Linked DNA regions of Homo sapiens: region 2 is linked to region 1. The links are contacts of gene promoters, found by promoter capture Hi-C in blood cells and fetal thymus (Javierre and others, 2016). All regions are on one chromosome and are shown on one strand. Each heading gives the region's core, a stretch centred on a gene start or on the middle of the fragment in contact. The rest is flanking DNA. Distances are from core to core; before and after follow the strand shown. Region 1 holds the start of RPS13 (ribosomal protein S13). Region 2 overlaps ZDHHC13 (zDHHC palmitoyltransferase 13).

Region 1 (4,989 bases), core at 2,086-4,585:
CCTGTAATCCCAGCACTTTGGGAGGCTGAGGCGGGCGGATCACTTGAGATCAGGAGTTTGAGACCAGCCTGGCCAACATGGTGAAACCCCCATCTCTACTAAAATACAAAAATTGGCCGGGCGTGGTGGCGGGTGCCAGTAGTCCCAGCTACTCGGGAGGCTGAGGCAGGAGAATCTCTTGAACTCGGGAGGTGCAGGTTGCAGTGAGCCAAGATCAGGCCACTGCACTCCAGCCTGGGTGACAGAACGAGACTCTCTCAAAAAACAAAAACAAAAATCTTCATGTATAACTAACTGACAACCCAAATTACACACAGACATCCTGTAATCTGGGACTAGATTGCTAAATCTACTATTCCCATCATCTTCCTGAAATAAAGTCTACAATCTAGACATCTACAAAGGGGGAAAAATGACATTATTTAGGTTCATTCTTTCAAATAATTACTGAGTACCTAACTTCCCGCCAGGCACTCTTGTGGGTGTTGGAGATAAAGCAATAAACGTTGTACTCTCAGAGCTAATTTTTATTGGAGGTGGACAGGCAACCAAACAAGCAACTAGAAAGGATGTTAGAGATTTGGGTGCTTTGAAAGTAATCAATAGGATATTGTGTTGGGAAGAAGGACTACTTTAGATGATCCTATTTAGGGAAAGCCACCCTGAGATGACATGGAGGCCAGGATGTGAAAGTGAGACCTGAAAAGGTCTTGAGGAAGAGCAAGCACTTCAGGCAGTGCCAACAGCAAGAGGAAGGGCTCTAAGCAGGAAAGGAACACATTGCTACCTTGTAGAGTCAGAAAGGAGTAAGTGCGGTTAGAGCGTTTAGAATCGGGGGATAGTGGCAAGACGTGGGTCCAGGGATTGGATCTTAGGTGCATTGAGAAAGTATGGGAGGGATTTACACAGGGGAGCAATGAATTAATCTGCTTTATGTATTTAATGGATCACTCTGACTGCTAGGTGGAGAGTGGGTTGTGTTTAGAGTGGGGACGTGACCAGACGGTGTGGATACTACAGAGTTGCCCAGATAGGAGGTGATGGTGGCTGGGACTGAAGGTGGAAATGGGGCAAAGGGAACATATTCATGATACATTCTTGTGGTAGAGCTGGGATGACAGAGGGAAATCAGAGAAAAACGGAGATGCCTAGGTTTGTATTAAGTTTGAGCAAACAGGATCGTGTTTAACTGAAACAAAGGGGCATGGTTTGGGAATTGGAGTCATATTAAATTTGAGATACCTATTCCATATCTGAACTAAAAATGTAAAATTGGCTAATGATAAACTTTGCTAGAAAAAAACATTACCCAAATAGGGTACCCGATTTGACTAAAATTCCTAATGCTTTGGGAAAAGTTATTAATCAAATAGTGACAGATTATGGCTTTTTTGGGGGGGAGGGGTGTTGTTTTCTTGGAGAACTGACCCGTTTGTTGTTATAAAGGGTTCTCTCTTTATCCCTGATACTTTTTTTTTGAGACGGAGTCTCGCTCTGCCACCTAGGCTGGAGTGCAGTGGTGCGATCGTGGCTTACTGCAAGCTCCGCCTCCCGGGTTCACGCCATTCTCCTGCCTCAGCCTCCTGAGTAGCTGGGACTACAGGCGCCCGCCACCACGCCCGTCTAATTTTTTTGTATTTTTAGTAGAGACGGGGTTTCACCGTGTTAGCCAGGATGGTCTCGATCTCTTGATCTCGTGATCCGCCCGCCTCAGCCTCCCAAAGTGCTGGGATTACAGGCGTGAGCCACCGCGCCCGGCTATCCCTGATAACTTTATTTCAAATAGTGACAGGTTAAAAGTTAAGAGCGGATGTTTCAGTATCTAGTTTCCCAGCGTCTTGCCAGTTACTTTAAGCTTGTCGACAGGAGTTTGATTTCACTGACCTCCCTCCTTCCTAGAGCTATGCTTACTTTTTAAAATTTTAAGAAGCTGCTTCATTTGCCCATTCTTTCAACGCATTGTTGTGTACCGGCACTGAGTCAGTCTTTTTCTTTCTTTCCTTTTTTTTTTTTTTTTTTAAGACAGAGTCTTGCTCTGTTGCCCAGGCTGGCGCGCAGTGGTGCTATCTCGGCTCACCGCAATGTCCTTCCCGGCTCCAGAGATTCTCCACCTCAGCCTCCTTCGTAGCTGGAACCAAAGGCACGAGCGAGCACGCCCGGCTAATTCTTTGTATTTATAGAGAGGGGGTTTCGCCATGTTGCCCAGGCTAGGTCTGTCTTAAAAGAGCTTCTTCCGGCCAGGCGCGGTGGCTCACGCCTGTAATCCCAGCACTTTGGGAGGCCGAGGCGGGCGGATCACCTGAGGTCGGGAATTTAAGACCAGCCTGACCAACATGGAAAAACCCGTCTCTACTAAAAATACAAAATTAGCTGGAAGTGGTGGCGCATGCCTGTGATCCCAGCTATTCAGGAGGCTGAGGCAGGAGAATCGCTTGAAGCCGGGAGGCGGAGGGTGCGGCAAGCCGAGATCGCGCCATTGCACTCCAGCCTGCGAATCAAGAGCGAAACTCCGTCTCAAAAAAAAAAAAAAGCTTCTTCCTTGACGGTTCCCTTTTCCCATGAAATTCAAATGCTTCATTTTATCCCTCATCCTCTTGGCCTTTGCAGTCTTGCTCCCAAGGCTCTTCCCTGCCCGCCAACTCTCTCACTTGGGAACATAGCTCCGTAAGCCTCTGCCCAACCCTTCTCCCCGGCGAGCCCAGCGCCCCAGAGCCCTGCGCAGGGGAATTCGAGTGCGGAGGGCGGCAGGCATCCGTGGGGACCTGGTTCAACTCCTTAGACCGGTTCTTCACCGTCAGCGACTCTCCCCTGACAGATTAGGGTAGGATTTAGAAATGAGAAATGGAAGCGCTGGCTGGGCGGTAGCCGCTGCCATGGCTTCCCGTGTGGTCCTCATCACATGCTATTGTATCTGTTAATTTATTAGGCGCAGGGCCGACTCTGAGGGATCTAGTGCCAGGACAAAGCCAGGCACTGGTGAATGAGCAAACACCTGTGTATGGCTGCTTCTTCCAGCCCTACCTGCTCCATACCCACCCCCAGCGCAGCATTCGAATCTTTGTGATCTCGGCGTCCACAGGGAATTTCGACGCAAGCTGGCGTCAGCCTCAAATTCCCGCTCTGGCAACAAGGCTGACCAAAGACCGATGCATGCCGGGATGAGGCTGGATTGACGATCTCTTGCGACGCTGAAATGCATTTCGGGAGATGTAGTCACACAGACGGGCGGTGGCTGCGCAGCGTAGCTCCGCCTCCTGCGTGAGAGGAAGCGGGGACGTGTGAGGTCACTTCCTGCGTGTTGGGTGGCTTCCTGCGGCGTTTCCACTCTCGCTCTCCTTTCGTTGCCTGATCGCCGCCATCATGGGTCGCATGCATGCTCCCGGGTGAGCTCGGGGCATCAAGCCGGATTGCTGGGCGGGGGGTGGGAGGAAGACAGGGAGTGTGGGCAGCGGGCCGAGGGGATGATGTTCTGGGCTGCTCTGGCACTAGCCGCCACCTCACCTCGAGACTGCTTCTCTCCCCAGGAAGGGCCTGTCCCAGTCGGCTTTACCCTATCGACGCAGCGTCCCCACTGTAAGTAGCGCGCTGGGACCGGGGAGAATCCGGGGAGGGGGTTGGCATTTGTCTCGGGTGAAGCGACGCCAGGGTGAGGAACTTGCGTGTATGAGGAGCGCGGTTTTGCGGAAGGAGAGACCGCTGTTCTGCGGCGCCATTCCTGGGTTCTCATCCTAAGGCTGCTTTCTATTCCATAACAGTGGTTGAAGTTGACATCTGACGACGTGAAGGAGCAGATTTACAAACTGGCCAAGAAGGGCCTTACTCCTTCACAGATCGGTGAGTGTTTGTGTCTAACATAGCCTATTTCGCCTGTCCTCGTGTGACTTGTAGGATCTAGTAGGTGGTAAAGTTATTTTAAAAATAGCCAAAACTCTGGTCTCGCCACCGTGCTAGAGGCATCATTGTAAGCACTTCACATGTACTGATTTCGTTTAATTCTGACCACAATACTTTGAAATAAATCTTCATGGCTTTCACCCCAGTTTACAGTTGAGGAAGCAGAGGCACACTGCCGCTGGATACTAACCAGCCCCAAATCACACAGCTGTCAAGTGGAGGAGTTGGAATTGGCTAAGCAGAGTGCCTGACACAGTTCCTCACAGTTAGGTGTGGTTTGAATCTCAGCTGCGTGTGACTTCGTGCAAGTGGCTTCATTCAGCAAATGTTTACCTTCTATGTGCTGAACATGGTTCTGGGGCCTGAGAACATACTACTCTCCGACTCCCCCGCCCAAAAAAGCCAGCCGCAATGTGCCTGTAGTCCCAGATACTTGGGATGCAGAGGTGAGAGGATCACCAGAGCCTAGAAGTCCCAGGCTGCAGTGAGCTATGATGAAGCCACTGCACTCCTGGGTGACAGAGAGACCCCACCTCTTTTTTTTTTTTTTTTTGAGACAGTCTTGCTCTTGTCGCCCAGTCTGGAGTGCAGTGGCGCGATCTCAGCTCACTGCAACCTCCACCTCCTGGATTCAAGCGATTCTCCTGCCTCAGCCTCCCGAATAGGTGGGATTACAGGCGCCCGCCAGCAGGCCCAGCTAATTTGTGTGTTTTTGTTTGAGACCGATTCTCACTTTGTCACCCAGGCTGGAGTGCAGTGGTATGATCTCGGCTCACTGCAACCTCCGCCTCCTGGGTTCAAGCAAGCAATTCTCCTGCCTCTGCCTCTGGAGTAGCTGAGACTACAGGCCGCACCACCACGCCCGGCTAATTTTTGTATTTTTAGTAGAGACGAGGTTTCACCATGTTGGCCAGGCTGGTCTCAGACTCCTGACCTCAGATGATCCACTGCCTCGGCCTCCCAAAGTGCTGGGATTACAGGCGTGAGCCACACCACCTGATCCCACCTCTTAAAAGGGGGAGGGGGGTGCAAAATATCTGTACTCCTGGAGCTTGTAGTCTAATTGGAGGTATGACACATCAAAAGAAAATATGT
Region 2 (4,989 bases), core at 1,189-3,688, 2.0 Mb before region 1:
TTCTCTTTTGTGGATTGCCTTTTCATAGTCTACTTGTTTTTCTAATGAATTGCACATATCTGTTTCTCTTTGTAGGTTAGAAAGATTAAGCCTTTTTTGTTTTGTTTTTGAGATGGGGTATTACTCCGTCACCCAGGCTGGAGTGCAGTGGCACCATCAAATCTCACTACAGCCCTATCTGCTGGGCTCAAGTGATTCTACCACCTGACCCACCGTAGTAGGTAGGACTATAAGCAAGCACTACCACACCCTGCTGATTTTTTTATTCTTCTGTAGATAGGTCTCGTTATGTTGCCCAGACTGGTCTCGTTATGTTGCCCAGACTGGTCTTAAACTCCTGACCTCAAGTTATCCTTCCGTCTTGGCCTCCCAAAGCACTAGGGTTACAGGCATGAGCCACCACACCCCACCCTGACCCTTTGTTTATACACAGATTTTTCATCACAGAAAACTGACTCATTCTAGATACAAATTTGTTGCTTCTTATACTATTTTAAGGCATTAAGGACATCAGCTTTATTTTTCATGTATAAAGTTGAGGAGGTTTACATGTTTTAATGTGAAGAATATCCACAATTGAGAATATTTGTTTAGTCGGCAATTAATTACTGTGTATTTATGATGTACAATTACGCTAAGGGCATATAAGACATGGGTGTCTATCCTCCAGGAATTTAAGTCTAATAAGGGAGATATGTCAGAGACAGAGTGAAATAATAATAGCAGGCAATATGTGATTATATATGATTAAATGGCAACTTTAAGAAACTAGAAAACAGAAGATATCTTCCGTTCATGTCATCATTGTTTACCCGCATGCAGATCAAAGTAAAACCTAAAAATGACTATATTCAAAGCTTGTGTTTGAAGTCAATCATCTACAAAGTGAGGAAAGTACACTCAAAGCCATATATGCAGTGACCCACTAGGTAATGTGAGAAAATGTTAAAGCTTCTATTATAATAATTTTTTATCTTTTTACTTAAAAAGGAAAAATAAAATTTACAAATTTGAGTTTTTAAAGCTTTACCAAATTTATTTTTTCTTTTTAGCACACCTCTGCTGGCAGGAAAGCTTTACTAATTTTTAACGATGGCAGTCTCATTTATTGATATGCCAAGCAGGTCACTCCTTATACTCTGTTTACAAGGTAACCTAAGGGCAGAGAAAGCTTCCACAAACAGAGAGTTGACAGTAGGACCTTCAGCATTTTACAATATATATTAGATTATTTTCAAATTATATTGTTAAATTTTAACTAAATTACCTCTCCCAAAATGAGCAAGTAGCTTAAGCTGATTTCTACAAAGAAGCCATGAATTGAGGTAATAATAATAATAATAATAAGCACAAGCAAATAAGAAAATAGCAGATCAGGAACTCTTTATCAGACACATGAAGTATAAACAAAGATGATCTAATCCAATCTGACAAGTCAGTACCCCCTTGGAAAAAATTCAAAATTGTCAAGAGGCTAAATTGAGGCAGATTTATAACCACCATCTTTAATTCAAATCTTGCCATGAACATATACTGAGCTATTAGTTAATGAATATAATTTAGAAATACATGTCAAATCCTACAATAACATGACCCACGACAATATGAAATTGGCCGCCAGCTCCTATCCCCATGTTCAAACAGAAGAGAGCTGAAATTTTTATTTTCTGTGAAGTTTTCTGTGAAGCAAGGTCAGGAAAAGGAGGGCAAGGACACAACAGAGAAGAAGACAGGTAACCTTGAGTCTCAAAAGATAGGGAAGAAGACACATTGAGTCCCTGCTTCCACAGTATTCTCTCAGCCTAATCTCTCCTGATTGCACTGATGACACGGGCCAAATAACCAAATTCCTGGTACTGCCACATTGACTGTATGATAGTGGTGAATCATCTACTCTATTTTTGGCTCATTTCTACGTTGGTAAAGTGAAAGGGACATATCAATACACCCATAAAGCTCCTTCTAAGTCTCATGTTGCATGGTCCTAAGGTGAGCTATTACAATAGTCACTATTGACTTGTGAACTGGTAAAGAATTTACTGTATGAACAAACACACTACATGGATAAAGAAGCTTAACTGCTACATGGCTGCCTACAATGTTAAGGTAACAGAACAGACTAAGCAAATTCTCATGATGCCAGCCAACTCCCAAGAGTTTTCATCAATTATTCATTCAGGGAAATATAAAGAACACCTATACAAATCACAGAAGTAGGTAATCAGGGATAAAAGATGAATAAGACACAGTTCCTTCCATAATACATTCATTCTAGACATTTACTGAATGCCTACTACGTGCTGGGCACTATTGTAGACACAGCAACATGGCAATGAACAACAGACAAGGTCCTTGGTTTTCAAGGAACTTATATTCTAGTTAGGGATATACTCCCTTCCCCATTTTCAGAGCAGAGTAAAATACAGACTACTCCTCAGACCTTGACCTAAAGAATGGGTGGACTCCAAGTGGCAGCAAACAATCAAACAAGATCGTATCATGACTGGACCACCTGACTAGCAATGAAAATGCACTGCATCAGGAGCCCTGACACCTGGGCTCTGCTAACTTGCCATGAACCTTTGGAAAGTAAGTTATTATTTTTGCGTCTTGAATTCATGGGAAAAGTTAAAGGGCTAGACTAGATAAATGGTTCTCAAACCTTCCAAATGTCATGGACCTTTTTGAAAATGTTACCAAAATTAAGGCCTCTCTACTTAAGAGAAATGCACAACTGCACATGTAAACTAACTTTTCAAGATGTTCACTAATTTCAAGATGTTCACTAACGCCCTGAAGCTTATCCTATATGCCAGTTTAAGAATCTCTCAACTAGGTAATTCACTGAAAAGCCTTCCAGCTCCAAGTATTCTATGATTCTATTCCATTTTACTTCCTCTCGTCTTCCTAGGATTCCAGTCTACAACCACCTCAAGATACTAGAATAAAATGGTTTTTTTGTTGTTTTTGTTTTAATTAAGATACAAAGGGAAAAAAAATTTAAAGAGGGAAAAAAGAGAGATACCAAGAAAGAAATATGTAGCTAGCTCACTGTCCTCCACAGAAGAGTGAAAAGCAGAACAAGATATTATGAAAATTATCTAACAGACATATGAATACATGTGTGGTAATTTTTACAACATAGCCTCAAAATTATTTGCTACTTCTCCATCAAGAGGTAAAGGTCTATGTCCCTTCCTCTTGACTCTGAGCTTTGTGACTACCTCACAAATAATATATTTCAGAAGTGATGCTGTGCCAGTTTGCAGGCTCAGGCCCTAGAAACTGGCAGCTTCTTCTTCCTGGCTCTTTCATTAGATGGTCACTAATGGAACTCAGCCACTATACTGTGCAGAGGCCCAGGTCACGTGTAGGTGTCTCTACTGAAAGTTAACTGCCAGATGTAAGTGAAGACACTCATAGATACTGGCCCCAGCTCTCAATTCATCTCCAGCTTATGAGTCTTTGCAGCTGAGGCTCTAGACATGGTGGAACAGAAACAAACCAACCCTGCTGCAGTCTCTCCAAGTCCCTGACACACAGAGTCCATGAGCATGACAAAGCCATGTTTTATACCACTATGTTTTGAGGTGGTTTCTTACACAATAAATAACTAGGGCATCTTTAAGCTCTGAGGGATCATGTAATACTTCTCACACAGAGATGTCATGAATGAGATTATTTTTCTAAATTGTATATAAGAATTGTTAAAGTTACAGTGGGCATTAATTTAAGCCAAAATCAAGATTTAGAAAACCACACTTAAACTCCAATGACAGGCATTATCCTGCCAGATTATCGAATAAAAAGAGAGTGAGAGAGAAGGAGCGAGTGAGAGAGAAATATGTGACACTCATTAAAAGTTCTCATGTCATTAAAGTTCTCATTAACAGAAGTACCAGAGTTTAGTTTCCAAGTTCATTCATTGACAAGTATTTACAGAGTACTCACCAGTGCTAGGCATTGTTCCAGATGCCAGGCACACAGCAGTGAACATAACAGACAAAAATCACTGTCCCTATAGTACTAACATTCAGTGGAGGAGAAAGAAACAATAAACAAGACCAATAAGTACGTTAAATGGTGTTAAATGCTGAGGAGAAATCTAAAGCAAGGAAGGAGGCCAGGGAGTGTTGCTGGTAGTGCTGATGATGGAAAAGGCTTGCAATTTTAAATACGGGGGTCACAGAATGCCACACAGAGGTGACATTTGTGTCAAGACTTTAAAGAGGTGGGGGAATAAGCCAAGTGGGCACACAAGGAAAGAGCATTCCAGAAGTAAGTATGAAAGACTCTGAGGCTGGTGTGGCTGGGGATGACCGGGCAAGCAAGACAGTAAAAGATGAGGTCAGGCTGGGAGCGGTGGCTCACGCCTGTAATGCCAGCATTTTGGGAGGCCGAGGCGGGCGGATCACAAGGTCAGGAGATCGAGACCATCCTGGCCAACATGGTGAAACCCCATCTTACTATACAAAAAATTAGCAGGGTGTGGTGGTCCGCACCTATAGTTCCAGCTACTCGGCAGGCTGAGGCAGGGGAATCATATGAACCCGGGAGGCGGAGATTGCAGTGAGCCGAGATCGCGCCACTGCACTCCAGCCTGGCAACAGAGCAAGACTCTGTCTGAAAAAAGAAAAAAAAGATGAGGTCAGAAAGGAAACTGCAGACCTGATTGTATAGGCAAATCCTGGCAAAAATCCAACAGCACCGATCTTGGAATCAAAAGAACCAAATTCAATGAGAGCAGTAATGTTTTTGTCTGTTTTGTTCACTAATTTATCACAGCACCTAAAACGGTGCCTGGCAGACATTCAAAACACATTTGCTGAATGAACGACTGAAGTCTTGGCTCTATCACTTAGCAGCTATTTGACTTGTAGCAAGTGATTCCAGTTTTCTGAGCCTCTGTTCTCATTTCTAAAATCAGAATAATCATTTCTCCCCACCTCAGAGGATTATAGTGAGGATCAAAAATGGGGAAGTATTTTG

The links. Contacts are between HindIII fragments. The CHiCAGO score rates a contact against its expected background, and 5 or more counts as called.
Region 2: a fragment that was not itself captured here is called in contact with the fragment with the promoter of RPS13 in region 1 in 1 of 17 cell types (total CD8 T cells); the score reaches 5.1 in total CD8 T cells.

What each region holds. Positions count from the first base shown.
Region 1 is chr11:17,076,013-17,081,001 of GRCh38, reverse strand. RPS13 (ribosomal protein S13) reads left to right here and starts at 3,335. Exons shown (of 6, transcript NM_001017.3): 1 at 3,335-3,383; 2 at 3,525-3,573; 3 at 3,756-3,834. The coding sequence starts at 3,361. RefSeq lists an enhancer at 3,102-3,301. The HindIII fragment of the contact is 8,959 bases long and covers 2,534-4,989 here.
Region 2 is chr11:19,118,767-19,123,755 of GRCh38, reverse strand. The region is part of intron 1 of ZDHHC13 (zDHHC palmitoyltransferase 13); the gene reads right to left. Among named protein-coding and RNA genes, the nearest start is that of ZDHHC13, 4.1 kb to the right of the region's middle. The HindIII fragment of the contact is 726 bases long and covers 2,076-2,801 here.